5 separate regions of the Homo sapiens genome follow, and regions 1, 2, 4 and 5 are each linked to region 3. The links are contacts of gene promoters, found by promoter capture Hi-C in human tissues and cell types (Jung and others, 2019). All regions are on one chromosome and are shown on one strand. Each heading gives the region's core, a stretch centred on a gene start or on the middle of the fragment in contact. The rest is flanking DNA. Distances are from core to core; before and after follow the strand shown.

Region 1 (2,700 bases), core at 81-2,580, 640 kb after region 3:
CAATAAAGTTGACAAATATGCAGTGGGGGAAGGACACGCTATTCAATAAATAGCGCTGGGAAAATTGGCTAACCATATATAGAAAAATGAAACCGTACCTCTATCTCTCACCGCATACAAAAATTAACTCAAAGACTTAAACATAAGACCTGAAACTCTAAAGATCTTAGAAGAAACCCTAGGAAAAACTCTTCTGGATATTAGCCTAGGCAAAGAATATATGACTAAGACCTCAAAAGCAAATGCAACAAGAAGAAAAATAGGCAAATGGGACTTAATTAAATGAAAACACTTCTACACAGCAAAAGAAATAACAGAGTAAATAGACAACCTATAGAATGGGAGAAAATATTTGCAAATTAAGCCTCTGGCAAAGGACTAATACGTAGTATCTCCAAGGATCTCAACAAGAAAAAAAAACCCATTAGTAAGTGAGCAAAGGCTGGGCGTGGTGGCTAACACCTGTAATCCCAGGACTTTGGGATGCTGAGGCAGGAGGATCACTTGAGGCCAGGAATTAGAGAGAAAGTAGGCAAAGGACAAGAACACATACTTCTCAAGTGAAGACATACAAGCGGCAAAGAAACATGAAAAAGTGCTCACATCAGTAATCATCAGAGAAATGCAAATCAAAACCACAGTGAGATATCATCTTACACTGGTCAGAATGGCTATTATTAAAAAGTCAAAAAACAACAGATGTTGGCATGGATGCACAGAAAAGGAAATGCTTATATGCTGTTAATGGGACTGTAAATTACTATAACCTCTATATAGAAAACAGTATGGAGGCCAGGTGCGGTGGCTCACTACCTGTAATCCCAGCACTTTGGGAGGCTAAGGCAGGCGGATCACTTGAGTGCAAGACCAGCCTGGCCAACATGGTGAAACCCCGTCTCTACTAAAAATACAAAAATCAGCTGGGCGCGGTAGTGCACGCCTGTAATCCCAGGAAGCTGAGGCAGGAGAATCGCTTGAACCCGGGAGGCAGAGGTTTCAGTGACCTTAGACTGTGCCACTGCATTCCAGCCTGGGCGACAGAGTGAGACTCTGTCTCAAAAAAAAAAAAAAAAGGTTAGTGGCTTTTGTGTCCTTGGTTAGCAAGGTCTTCTCTACTTTGAGATTATAAAGTAATTTTCTGCATGTTTTCTTCTAGAGTTTTTATTTTTACATTAAAATTGTTATTGGCCAGCTGCGTAAGGCACCTGGTGGTGCTCTAGGCACTGGGTTAGCGTCCCTTATGCCGAGCTCTAAACCTTCAGAATGCCCTTGCCGCCCCTGGCTGAGTTCACAGTGGCTGAAGCTGTTCCCATAAGACCCTGAATCTAGCAGCCACTGTGTACTATACCTGGAGCAGTCCAACTGGGTGGACTGTGCTCAGCATCCGAACATCTAGACAGGCAAAGCCATTCCCAGTGGTGGCCCAAACCAGCAAACATTGTGTAACAATTTTTTTGCAATCAATTTTTCTTTTCTTGTTTTTTGAGATGGAGTCTTACTTTGTCGTCACCCAGGCTGGAGTGCAGTAGTGGGAACTTGGGTCACTGCATCCTCTGCCTCCCAGGCTCAAACAGTCCTCCCACCTCAGCCTGTATTCTATTTCTGTAGCTGAGAATATAGGTTTCTTCCAGCACACCTGGCTAATTTTTTATTTTATTTTTTATTTTTAGTAGAGATAGGGTTTTGCCATGTTGCCCAGGCTCGTCTCGAACTGGGCTCAAGTGATTTGCTTGCCCCAGCCTCTCACAGTCTGAGATTACAGGTGTGAGCCATCATGCCCAGCCTGCAGTTTTTCTTATTAAAACTTAATGGGGGCCGGGGGCAGTGGCTCACTCCTGTAATCCCAGCACTTTGGGAGGCCTAGGCGGGCGGATCACCTGAGGTTGGGAGTTCAAGACCAGCCTGGCCAACATGGTGAAACCCCGTCTCTACTAAAATACAAAAGTTAGCCAGGTGTGGTGGTGCATGCCTGTAATCCCAGCTACTTGGGAGGCTGAGGCAGGAGAATTGCTTGAGCCCTGGAGGCAGGGGTTACAGTGAGCCGAGATCGTACCACTGCATTCCAGCCTGGGCAACAGAGTGAGACTCTGTCTCCAAAACAAAAAACAATAAAACAAACTAATGGGGCTAGGCATGATGTTATATTCTTGTAGTCTCTGAAACTTGGGAGACTGAGAAGGGAGAATTGCCTGAGCCCATGGTTCAAGGCCAGCCTGGGCTGTGTAGTGAGACCCATCGCTGCAAAAAAAAAATTGTTTAAATAAAATTAGCCAGCATGGTAGCACATGCCTCTACTCCCAGCTATTCAGTAGGCTGAAATGGGATCGCTTGAGCCCAGGAGGTCGAGGCTGCAGTGAATCATAATCGCCTTTCTGCACTCCAGCCTGGGCAACAGAGCAAGACCCTGTGTCAAAAAATAAATAAATAAATGAAACGGCCAATATAGAATAAAGGTGCTAAAAAAGGCATAGGAGGGAATCTTCATGACTTTGGGGTAGGCAAAAAATTCTTAAACAGGGACACAAACCACTAACCATAAAGAAGTGACAAATTATGTGACATTAAAATTAAGAACCTTTATAAGGCACCATTAAGAGGGTGTAAAGGGCTGTGCATGGTGGCTCATGCCTGTAATCCCAACACTTCAGGAGGCCGAGGCAGAAGGATCGCTTTAGCCCAGGAGTTTGAGATCAGACTGAG
Region 2 (2,700 bases), core at 90-2,589, 580 kb after region 3:
GTCACCCAGACTGGAGTGCAGTGGCGCTGGAGTGCAGTGGTGCGATCTCGGCTCACTGCAACCTCTGCCTCCTGGGTTCACGCCATTCTCCTGCCTCAGCCTCCTGAGTAGCTGGGACTACAGGCGCCCACCACCACGCCCGGCTAATTTTTTGTATTTTTAGTAGAGACAGGGTTTCACCGTGTTAGTCAGGATGGTCTCGATTTCCTGACCTCGTGATCCACCTGCTTCGGCCTCCCAAAGTGCTGGGATTACAGGGGTGAGCCACCACACCCGGCCACAAGATGCAATTTTAATTAAAAATTGTTTAAATTGATTTAAAATTAAATTTGAAATTAAATTTTAATTAAATTAAATTTGAAATTTAAAATTTTAATTAAAAATGCAATTGGCTGGGTGCAGTAGCTCACGCCAGTAATCCCAGCACTTTGGGAGGCCAAGGCTGGCGGATCACAAGGTCAGGAGTTCGAGGCCAGCCTGGTTAACATGGTGAAACCCTGTCTCTACTAAAAATACAAAAATTAGCCAGGTGTGGTGGGCCCCTCTAATCCCAGCTACTCAGGAGGCTGGGGTTAGAGAACTGCTTGAGCCTGGGAGGCAGAGATTACAATGAGCCGAGATCATGCCACTACACTCCAGCTGGGGTGACAAAGCAAGACTGTCTGGGGGGGATAATTATAATCCTGTGCCTAGAATGCTGTTGGACAGCAAACTTGGAGAGGTGCTTAGAGAACATTGTGCCTGGCATTATGTCAGCACACGTAGTGCTGTGGAAACACCTGCCTGTGCACAGCGGTGTCTAGTCCCGCCAGGTCACCTCCCTCTTCCTACTGATGAGGCACCTGAGCCTCTAGCACTTTCTGGAATTGGGCAGAAACAAGCAGGCTGCATCTGGAGCCACATGCTCCAAAGACACTTCTCCGTGGCAGCGCCGCTGGCCAGCTGAGCAGAGGATGATGGGAAGAGGGTTCCATACCCCACAAGACCATAGGCACCCTGGAGGTCCCCTGGGTCTGTGTTACCTGATCTTCTGAATGCGACAGTCCTTCCCACTCAGCACGCTGCCCAGCAGCTCCATCACGGGGTCCTGGAACTGGTTGGTGTCCAGCCTGGCCAAGGGGAGCAGTGACAGTGAGTGTCCCACCCGCCCACGGGCAGGGTGGGGGCCCTGGCCCGGGGCCTCTGCCTCTCTCCATCCCATGCAGCGCTATCACCGCAGCTCTGAGATCTGCGCTCAGCCCCAGTGCTCAGACCTTTCCCGTGAGAGTGAACAGGAGGCTGGGTGCCCACGAGACCTGCGGTTCCTGTGCAGAACGGCATCTTCCACGGGCTGTCGTCCTCACCACCCCACATACCGCCTGCCTCTGCGGGACACCTGGATGACCCTCAGCCTGTGTCCTTTCCTCCCTACTCACTAAGGTCCAGAGTGGCGGGCAGGGGACAGGCTGAAAGCATTCAGCGGGTGTGCAGCTTCTATCAGACTGGATGGTTCTGAGGGGGTTATGAATTGAATTGTGTCCCCACAAAAGATATGAAGTCCTAACCCCCTGTGCCCCAAGTATGTGGCTTTATTGAGAAATGGGGTCACTGTGGATGTACTTTGTTAAGGTGGGGCCATGCTGAAGTGGGGTGAGCCTGTAATCCAGTGTGACAGTGTCTTTTTAAGACAAGAAAGCACTGGCCAGGTGCAGTGGCTCAGGCCTGTAATCCCAGCAATTTGGGAGGCTGGGGTGGGCGGGTCACCTGAGGTCAGGAGTTTGAGAGCAGCCTGGCCAACATGGTGAAACCCCGTCTCTACTAAAAACACAAAAATTAGCCAGGCATGATGGCGGGCACCTGTAATCCCAGCTACTAGGGAGGCTGAGGCAGGAGAATCGCTTGAACCCAGGAGGCAGCGTTTGCAGTGAGCTGAGATCGCGCCACTGTATTCCAGCCTGGGCGACAGAGCAAGACTCCATCTCAAAAAAAAAGAGAGGACAGCACCATGTGGAGACAGACACAGGGAGAAGATGACCAGGCGACGGGAGAGACTGAAGTAACGCAGCCTTAAGCCAAGGGTTCCCATCAAACACTGGAAGCTAGAGAGGAAGGAAAGAACCTCTCCTATATGTTTCAGAGAGCGCATGGCCCTCCTGGCACCTTGATTTGAGACTTCTGGCCTCCAGAACTGCGAGAAAACACACTTTAGTTGTTTTAAGCCACCAAGTTCATGGTCCTCTGTTACGGCAGCCCTAGGAGACTGACAGAGAAGCTTGGTGGTGGGGAGGGGACGGCTTCTGCTCTCTCCTCTGCCCCTTCCCCAGCCCCTGCCCCCTGCCCTGGTATCCACCTGAGCTTCCGGCAGTAGAGCAGCTGGGGCAGCAGGCTCTGAAGGACGCCCTGGCTGAGGCTCAGGGACAGGTTGGCCTCCTGGGCACAGGCGTCGGACACCTGCAGGAGGTAGGCCAGGGCAGCGCGGTGCGCGGGACCAGTCAGCCTGGCCAGGGCCCCGCTCTCCATGGCCTCCTCCACGCTGCGGGCCAGCTCGGTGTGCTGCAGCTCATGCAGGCAGTGCAACACGTTGATGGCCCGTGCACAGACTGCGGCATCGGGGCGCAGGCAGCCCTGCAGGAGCTCAGCCACCTGGGTCCGGTAGGCCTGGTGCTCGCCTTGGGCCAGCAGGGAGCCGGCCAGGAGGGCATTGACCCTCGGAGACAAGAG
Region 3 (2,700 bases), core at 31-2,530:
CTCTACTAAAGATACAAATTTTTGCCGGGCGTGCTGGTGCATGCCTGTAGTCCCAGCTACTCAGAGGCTGAGGCAGGAGAAATGCTTGAACCCAGGAGGTGGAAGTTGCGGTGAGCCGAGATTGCGGCATTGCACTCCAACTGGGCGACAAGAGCAAAACTCCATCTCAAAAAAATATACATAATAGTAAATAAAAAATTAAAAAGAGCAGTCTCCAGTACCTGAGGGAGTACAGGGGTGAGGGGAGCGATGCTACCTGGGCCTGGCTGGCAGGCTGCCCTCCATCTTGTGGAGACTCTTCCTCTGACTCTAACTACCTCAGAGTCCCAGCCCAGGGTTTCTCCAAGTCAGGAGCCAGGGTGTTGGGATCCTGGAGGTCACTGGTCACAAGCACAGCCTCCAGGCCCAACCCTGGCACACTCGGGGACCTGGGCCTGTGCATCTTAACCCAGTTCTCCCACCGTCCCTGCCCTACGACTTACGTTCTAGCATGACTGGCCTGGCCCAACAGCCTCAGTGGTGGGACGGGGGAGGCAGGAGCAGGGGCTCCCACGTGAATCCAGGGTGTCCCTGAGCTAAGGCCAGGCGGGGGTGACCTCCGCAGCTTCCGGGGCCCTGGGCGATCGGGCCGTCTCGCCTCACCCTCTCACCAGGCCCGACACATCTGCTGGCCACCTTTCCCGGTAGACGGTAAGTTCCTCCCAGGCAGGGCCGCGGCTGACTTCACTCCGTGGGTGTGGGGAAGCCCTGGCGAACAGAGCAGTGGACGGGCTGTCACGAGGGAAGAGGGGCTGTTGCAGAAGAAGAGAGGCTGTCCCGGGGCAGGGGCTGTCACGGAGGAAGGACTGTCACGGGGAGGGCGGCGGCGCGGGGTTGATGGACAGCAGGCGGGGTCTCCGGGAGGGGCGAGTAGGGCGGGACCGCCGCTGGGAAGGGGCTCGAGGCAAGGGAACCAGGAATTGGGGAGGACGGGAGGCAGGGGCTCGCGGGGGCGGGCCTGAGGGGACGCGAGCGGGCCGCCGGGGAGGCCTGAGGGGCAGGGGTAACGCAGACCTGGCGAGGCGGAGGGGAGCGGCGAGGTGGCCACGCCGAGGCCCCTCACGGCGGGGTCTGGGCTCACCTGGGGCGACTGGGCGGGGCGCGGGTCCGCGAGGGCCCAGATTCCGGGTCCGCGGAGGCCACGGGACCCCTCGGGTGGCTCAGCGGGCCGGAGTCTGCCGTCGACTGTTCCGGACGCCCGGGCGGAGGACTCCCGTGAGGGGGAACGGCCCGTGAACGCGCGCGGAGCTGCTCGCGCCAAAAATTCCAAACCGGCCTCGAGGCTCCTCCCCCTCCCCAGTGCAGCCCGTCAGGGGTGCCCGGGCTCCGAGGCTCCGCCCCTCGTGCTGCGTGCGCGCCGCCGAGCCGCCCCGCCGCTCACTGCGCAGGCGCACAGGATTCTCCGCGCTGGCCCGGGGCGTGGGTGGCGGCCTGGTTCTGAGTCGCTGCGCGGGGCTTCAGCCGCCCAGTCCCTGGGACGCCCACTGCCCTCCAGGCCTCGCACCCGACACCCACCGCCCTCGCTGGGCTGGCGTAGTGTTTGGGTCCATAAAAGGGACCGCCATCCCGGTGCTCGGAGCAGGCGTAGCCCCAGGGTTACTCCGGGTAGGACCAGGAAGTCCCTACGGCCTCCTGGGTCCCGGCACCCCCCTTCTCACTCCGGCCGTGTTCTGAACCAGGGTCGCGGTGGGAGGCCAGACGCACGACCCCCAACCCCTAGCGCACGGCTTCGGGAGCCAGAAAAAGCCGCCTCTTCCAGGAAGCTCTCCAGATAGGCAGGACTCTGCTTGGCCTGACCTCGCCTGCCTGCAGCTTCCCTGCCAACAGGCCTCAGATACTTTTTTTTTTTTTTTTAGACAGGGTCTCACTGTCACCAAGGCTGGAATGCAGTGGTGCAGTCCCCAGGTTCAGGCGGTTCTCCCAACCTCAGCCTGCCGAGTATGTGAGATCACAGGCGCGCGCCACCGCACTCGGCTCATGTATTTTATTTTTAGACAGGGTCTCATTCTGTTGTCCAGGCTGGAGTGCAGTGGGGCGATCTCGACTCACTGTAACTTCCGCCTCCCCCGCTCAAGCGTTCCTCCCACCTCAGCCTCCTGAGTAGCTGGGACCACAGGCGCGCGCCACCACACCCAACTAATTTTTGCATTTTTTTGTAGAGACGGTGTTTTACCATGTTGGCCAAGCTAGTGTCGAACTTCTGACCTCAAGCGATCCGCCCGCCTCGGCCTCCCAGAAGGCTGGGATTACAGGCGTGAGCCACCGCGATTGGCCGCAGGATCATAGTTCACTGCAGCCTCGAGCAGCCACTTCCGGGGCAGCTCCTCCATTCTCTGAGTTTGAGACTTGCTCTCAGCTCAGATCCCTTCAGCGCTCTCCTGGCTGAACGACCTTGGGAATGCACTGAGCCTTTCTGAGCTTCGGATTAGTCTCCTCTCCTGGAAAAAAAAAAACAGCTGAGGACGCTGGGATGATCCCCTAAAGTGATTAGCAGGGGCCCTCGCGGAGCAAGTCGGGCTAGGGATTGTTCCTTCCCTCACCGAGGGGCTCTTTATCTGTTTAACTGGGTGGGAGGAGTACGCTTCCGGCCAACCCTCCCCCAAACGCTGGCCTTCTCACTCTCACCTCTCCTTCCGCCTTATTTTTGCTATTGCCCTGATC
Region 4 (2,700 bases), core at 196-2,695, 550 kb before region 3:
TAGGGGGAGACAGGTAACAGTGACAAAGTAGGAAACAGTAACCCAGGAGGACAAAAGTGAGATAAGGGGATAATAAATCTGGGGGCTGAGAACATGGGACATCTGGGGAGCAGGCCCCAAACTCGCTCAGCCTGTCCTCTCTTCACCCTCCTTCACCCGCTTCCTGATTCCGGGACAGGGAATATTCCCAACTTCCAGACCCTCTCTGGGGCCACGGACTCTTCTGTACCCTGTGCTGTGATCACCTGTTTACTCTGTCTCTTGCCCCAGGCCGGCTGAAGCCTGCACGCCAGGGCTCCTGTCTGTGTGCCCAGGGCAGGCCCAGTACTTGAAGGAGTTCTATGGGGACCCGGAAGGATGGAAGGGTGCAGACTGAGGGAAGCGTGAGGGAGGGGTGGGCAGCCTTGGCCCAGGCCCCTGCCTTCCCCAGGAAAAGCCCCCTCTGTCCTCCACCAGACAGTCAGGAGGCTGCGAGTCTTCCCCTTGACAGCCTGTGCCGTAAAAGGGGTGCGGTGTGGCTGACTCCTGAAGGACAGCTCAGATGGGCACTGCCCAAGACAAGAGTGAGCAGATACGACACTTCCCGCGGCGAGCAGCTCCAGGTAGCAGCCGAGGAGGCCAGACAGGGGGCAGCATCTGGCCAAAGTGATGGGGAGGGCTTGCCCCGGGGCTGGAGCACTGAGGCGTCCAGGGTGCGCCACGTTTCGCGGGAAGAAGGGGTCAGCGTTCCGCGGGGGAGACTTCCCAGCGTCAGCTCCGACCTCCTCTTTCTCTACCACGATCCCGGCCAGCATCCCCGCCCAGCAGCGGCTCAGCCACAAACCCAAGGGTCTCCACCTGAAGCAGGCGGCGGAAGGGAAGGCCGTGCAAGCTGGGGGTGAGGGTCGCGGGCCCAGGAGCGACCCCGGGACCCGGGCAGGGCACGGCCTCGTCTTAGAAGCGCCACGTCGAGGCTGTCCCAGGCTGGATCACGGCCGCGACTGCGAGGGACGCCAAGGAGTCCTCTTTCCCCTGGCCGCAGGCGTGCGCCTTCGCAGCCCATCTGGCACCGCAGATGCCGGTCGCCGGGGTCAGCGGCGAAGCCCGAACCCATGCGGCCGGGAGGGGACGCCCACAAACCCCTGCCCGCCGGCCGGGAAGCGCTCCTACGGGACCCCAGCCCCGTTGGGGAGGCGGGGCGGCCACGCGGGTTCCACCAATCAGCGGCCAATGTTCGAATTCGCGTCCTGGCGCGGCCAATGGCGGGTCCCGGAGCAGGCGGGGAGGGCGTGGAGGGCGGTAAATGAGGCGAGCACAGGGCGGGACATGGGCGGGGCCGGCGGCGGCCCCCCCGGGCAGGCCAATGGGAGGGCCGGGTGCGTTTGAAAACTGGGGTGGGCGGCGGGGCGGGGTCTGCGCCTGCGCGAGGGCTACGCGCGCTCCGGCCGGGGCGCGGGCGCGCTCTCAGGCGGGCTCCGGCGGCAGCGACGCGAGCGCGGCGATGGGGAGCGGCGGCGGTGAGTGCGGGGCGATGTCCGCTGGTTTCTGCCCCACACCCCTTCTGCCTGCCCTGCGGGGCGGACGGTGGGTCCCGCGGGAGGGGAGGCCCTGGCGGCCTGAAGAGGGCTGGCTCGAGCTCTTTAACCCGGGGCGGATGTCGCGTCCCGCGCAGGGAGCCCCGGCGGCCGGGCGCGCGGTTTAAATGCCCGGCGGGCGCCCGAGCCCCTCGGAGCCTTCCCCCGCGGCGACGTTTTCCGGCCCTTTCCTGGGGCAACGATCGGGTCCCGGGGCAGCGATCCGGCGATCGGGTCCCGGGGCGGCGATCGGGTCTCGGGGAGCCAAACACCAGCGCCTCCTGGTCGGGGAAAGGGCTGCGGAGCGCGTGGGGGCGAAGCGATCCCGCAGCCCGGCCGGGCCCTGACCGAGCCTCAGTCCAGCGGGGCCGTGGACCTAGCTCTGTGGAAAGCAGCGTTCGGCCCCGCGCGCGTTGAGGCACAGGAAACACGAACTGTGGTTTCAGCTATTATCATAGTATCTGTCCTGGAGCCGGAGAATGAGGAATATTTTATGGAGAGGTCTATAGAATCTTTGAGAATTCGTCGCCCTGGAATACGTTTGGCTTTTGCAGCTGATTTAATTGCTAACAGGAAGACCCCGGTCAAGAGAGGGGAGCCGGGAGCAATCGCTAGGAAGTCCTAGCAAGGCGGGGAGGGATTTGGGCCCACAGAGGGGAGTGGCGCTTCCTTTCAGGACTGGAAGGAAGGATGGATAGAAAGGTAGATTTGTAGATGGGGAGGCAGGATCCTGAGGTTCCTGTCTGAGGGCTTCTGTTTCCCTGTGAAATAAGGGCTAAGGTCATCTGCTTAGAGTGAGGAAGGGGTTGCTGGAGTAGGAGTTGGAAAATCCGGCTGTGGGAAGAGGAGAGAGCACATCTGAGAAGCATGTCCGGGCTGCCTGCCTGGTGGGTGGAATGCCCGTCTCACCTTTAATGATTGCATCTGTACACAAACCTACAGGTCTAGGTTTGTGTTGGGACCTGAGCAACAACCTTACTGCGTAGCTGTCAACTCCGCATTCTACAATAGAGGGCACACTGAGACTCTGCAGAGCTGAGACTTGGACGCACACTGCCCCGGCCTCCAAGTCTGTGGCTTCTCTCCAGGGCCGACCCTTCTAATTTGGACTTGAAAACCAGACTCTTCAAGCCCACAGATCTTTATT
Region 5 (2,700 bases), core at 77-2,576, 530 kb after region 3:
CACTCTTGTTGCCCAGGCTGGAGTGCAATGGCACAATCTCAGCTCACTGCAACCTCTGCCTCCCAGGTTCAAGTGATTCTTCTGCCTCAGCCTCCTGAGTAGCTGAGATTACAGGCATGCGCCACCACACCCAGCTAATTTTTTACTTGTAGTAGAGTCAGGGTTTCTCCATGTTGGTCAGGCTAGTCTCGAACTCCTGACCTCAGGTGATCTGCCCGCCTCAGCCTCCCAAAGTGCTAGGATTACAGGCGTGAGCCACCGCACCCGGCTTTGTATTTTTTTTTTTTTTTTTAGCAGAGATGGGGTTTCACCATGTTGGCCAGCTAGTCTCAAACTCCTGACCTCAGGTGATCTGCCTGCCTCGGCCTCCCGTAGTGCTGGGATTATAGGCGTGAGCCACCGCGCCTGTCCTCACATGTGGGTTTTTAACCAGGAGCGACACTCGTCAGCAAGAGAAGTGTCTAGAGATTGGGGCATATTTTGATGGTAGATCTCACGGGATGAGGCATGGGTTGAGAGTAAGTCAGGTGCTACAGGCCGGGTCTTGGGGCAGCCGTGCGGCAGAGCTTGCAGAGCTCATGGGTGTGTTCCGCCTCTGTGCTGTACTCTACGGGAACCACTGGCCACATGTGGCAAGCACAACTGAGGAACTGAGTTGAGTTCTGCATTTTCTTTAATTCTTAAGTAATTTAAGTGAAAATGGCCACATGTGGCTATTGGTTACTATATTAGACATCACTGCTCTGAAGTTTTTTGTGTGAGCCCCTGGAAGGATGAAGTTGCCATGTACTGAAGCAGAGAAGGTTCTGCACATGCTCCATTTGCCACGCCGATTGGCTGTCCAGGTGGAGATGGTGCACAGGTAGCTGGTATGTGAAACTAGAGCCCAGGGAAAGCCCAGGCTGGAGCTGGGAGCTGGGGAGCAATCAGCACACAGATGGTATTAAAGCCTTGAGGGTAGGAGCAGAGCCAGCAGAAAAGACGGGGGGTCCAGGAATGAAACTCTGACTCGCTCCACTTTTGAGAAGCAGAGAAGGTGACAGACTCCTGCAAAGAAGTTTGGGGATGTGCTGCTCGGAAGGGAAGAAAAGCAGCTAGAGCCAGAGCAGGCTGGATCCTGGAGGACTAAGGAAGAGGGAAGCAAGCTATCAAAGCCATCAGCTGCAAATGAAGAGGGAGAGTTGTTGCTAGTGGGTTGAAAATGAGAGCCAGAAGGTGAGGATTGGTTGTCCAGGAGAGAGGGAGAGTGAGCAGAGCAGGGAGACGTTTATGTTTGGGCTCCTTAGAAGAGTTAGCATATTCTAGGAAGAAGGGGTGACACACACATCCTAAGAAAGAAGCCTGTGCACAGGGCTCAGTGCTAAATCCTCATTGTGGTTGTCATCACCTTCCTGGCAACAGCTGCCCATCTGTGGAGCCCAGAACCATTGTAAGTCCTTAGTGGGTGCCACCCGATTTGCGCCTCTCCAAGCCTGTGGAGGAAAGTCTGAGGCAGAGAAGGAGGGCAGGGGAGGACGAAACACAGGACGTCAGGCTGCTGCAAGAGGATGTGTGTCCCTCAGGCTGTCCCTTTGTGTGGCCGCTCTGCTGCCGTCAGGCACCCTACTGTGACAAAGTCCAAGTAGGAAGCACGTCAGCTTTCTCCCAGCTATGCCCTCCTGGTTGTGGCTTCAGTTTGAGGTGACATTAGGTTTTTTGGAGAGACCCAGGCGTCCTGGAATTGGTCTCTTTAGTACTTAGATGATCATTTCCTGAGCGTGTGTCCCGCAGCCTGTGAGCATGTAACTGGGGAAGCACATGTTTGTGGTCACGTGTCCCAACCAAAGGTAGGAGCTGACATGAACAGGCTAGTGGTTGAATGCATGTTAAAAATCTGTGGCTGGCCGGGCACGGTGGCTCACGCCTGTGATCCCAGCACTTTGGGAGGCCGAGGTGGGTGGATCACCTGAGGTCAGGAATTCAAGAGCAGCCTGACCAACATGTAGAAATCCTGTCTCTACTAAAAATACAAAATTAGCCGGGCGTGGTGGCACATGCCTGTAATCCCAGCCACTTGGGAGGCTGAGGCAGGAAAATTACTTGAACCTGGGAGGTGGAGATTGCGGTGAGCCGAGATCGCGCTATCACACTCCAGCCTAGGCAACAAGAACGAAACTCCGTCTCAAAAAAAAAAAAAAAAAAATCTGTGGCTGGCTGAACATGGTGGTTCTGCCTATAATCCCAACACTTTGGGAGGCTGAGGTCGGAGGGTCACTTGAGGCCAGGAGTTAGAGAGCAGCCTGGGTAACATAGCCAAGACCCTGTCTCTATTAAAAAACATCTGTTGCTGAGGTTTCTGTTTTTGTTATTTTCCTTCCAGATTGCAGATTTGAAGGCAGCCAGGCAGCTTGCGTCTGAAATCACCTCCAAAGGAGCATCTCTGTATGACTTGCTCGGCATGGAAGTAGAGTTGAGGGTAAGCATTCCAGTACTTCCTTAACCATGCAGATTTTCTCTTCAAGGTTTTCTTTTTCAATTCTGTTTCTCCCTTTTCAGTTCTGATTTAATGAAATACACCTGGTTGAATGAGCTAATGTGTGGAAAGGTGATAGAGGATATTAGCTGTCCTTCCTGCTTCTGGTGGGCACTGGTCTAGCTTTATTTATTTATTTATTTATTTTTATTTATTTATTTTTGAGACGGAGTCTCGCTGTGTTGCCC

The links. Contacts are between HindIII fragments. The study calls those that stand out against the background at their distance.
Region 1: a fragment that was not itself captured here is called in contact with the fragment with the promoter of PKMYT1 in region 3 in 1 of the 25 tissues and cell types used here (lymphoblastoid cells).
Region 2: a contact is called between a fragment that was not itself captured here and the fragment with the promoter of PKMYT1 in region 3, in 1 of the 25 tissues and cell types used here (spleen).
Region 4: a contact is called between the fragment with the promoter of CCNF here and the fragment with the promoter of PKMYT1 in region 3, in 2 of the 25 tissues and cell types used here (lymphoblastoid cells and spleen).
Region 5: a fragment that was not itself captured here is called in contact with the fragment with the promoter of PKMYT1 in region 3 in 1 of the 25 tissues and cell types used here (spleen).

The regions. Positions count from the first base shown.
Region 1 is chr16:3,623,212-3,625,911 of GRCh38, forward strand. It overlaps a transcript of DNASE1 not described here. Among named protein-coding and RNA genes, the nearest start is that of SLX4, 13 kb to the left of the region's middle. The HindIII fragment of the contact is 6,693 bases long and covers 1-2,700 here.
Region 2 is chr16:3,560,680-3,563,379 of GRCh38, forward strand. NLRC3 (NLR family CARD domain containing 3) reads right to left here. Exons shown (of 20, transcript NM_178844.4): 5 at 2,330-2,700; 6 at 1,023-1,109. Among named protein-coding and RNA genes, the nearest start is that of NLRC3, 15 kb to the right of the region's middle. RefSeq lists an enhancer at 1,183-1,683. The HindIII fragment of the contact is 5,808 bases long and covers 1-2,700 here.
Region 3 is chr16:2,979,166-2,981,865 of GRCh38, forward strand. PKMYT1 (protein kinase, membrane associated tyrosine/threonine 1) reads right to left here and starts at 1,281. Exons shown (of 9, transcript NM_004203.5): 1 at 1,121-1,281; 2 at 483-747. The coding sequence starts at 492. RefSeq lists enhancers at 1-847, 848-1,723, 1,724-2,600 and silencers at 1,015-1,244, 1,255-1,614. The HindIII fragment of the contact is 14,611 bases long and covers 1-2,700 here.
Region 4 is chr16:2,428,002-2,430,701 of GRCh38, forward strand. CCNF (cyclin F) reads left to right here and starts at 1,446. Exons shown (of 17, transcript NM_001761.3): 1 at 1,446-1,496. The coding sequence starts at 1,481. RefSeq lists enhancers at 507-1,086, 522-701 and silencers at 912-1,761, 1,772-1,821. The HindIII fragment of the contact is 14,340 bases long and covers 1-2,700 here.
Region 5 is chr16:3,510,024-3,512,723 of GRCh38, forward strand. It overlaps CLUAP1 (clusterin associated protein 1), which reads left to right. Exons shown (of 12, transcript NM_015041.3): 5 at 2,360-2,455. Among named protein-coding and RNA genes, the nearest start is that of CLUAP1, 10 kb to the left of the region's middle. The HindIII fragment of the contact is 6,420 bases long and covers 1-2,700 here.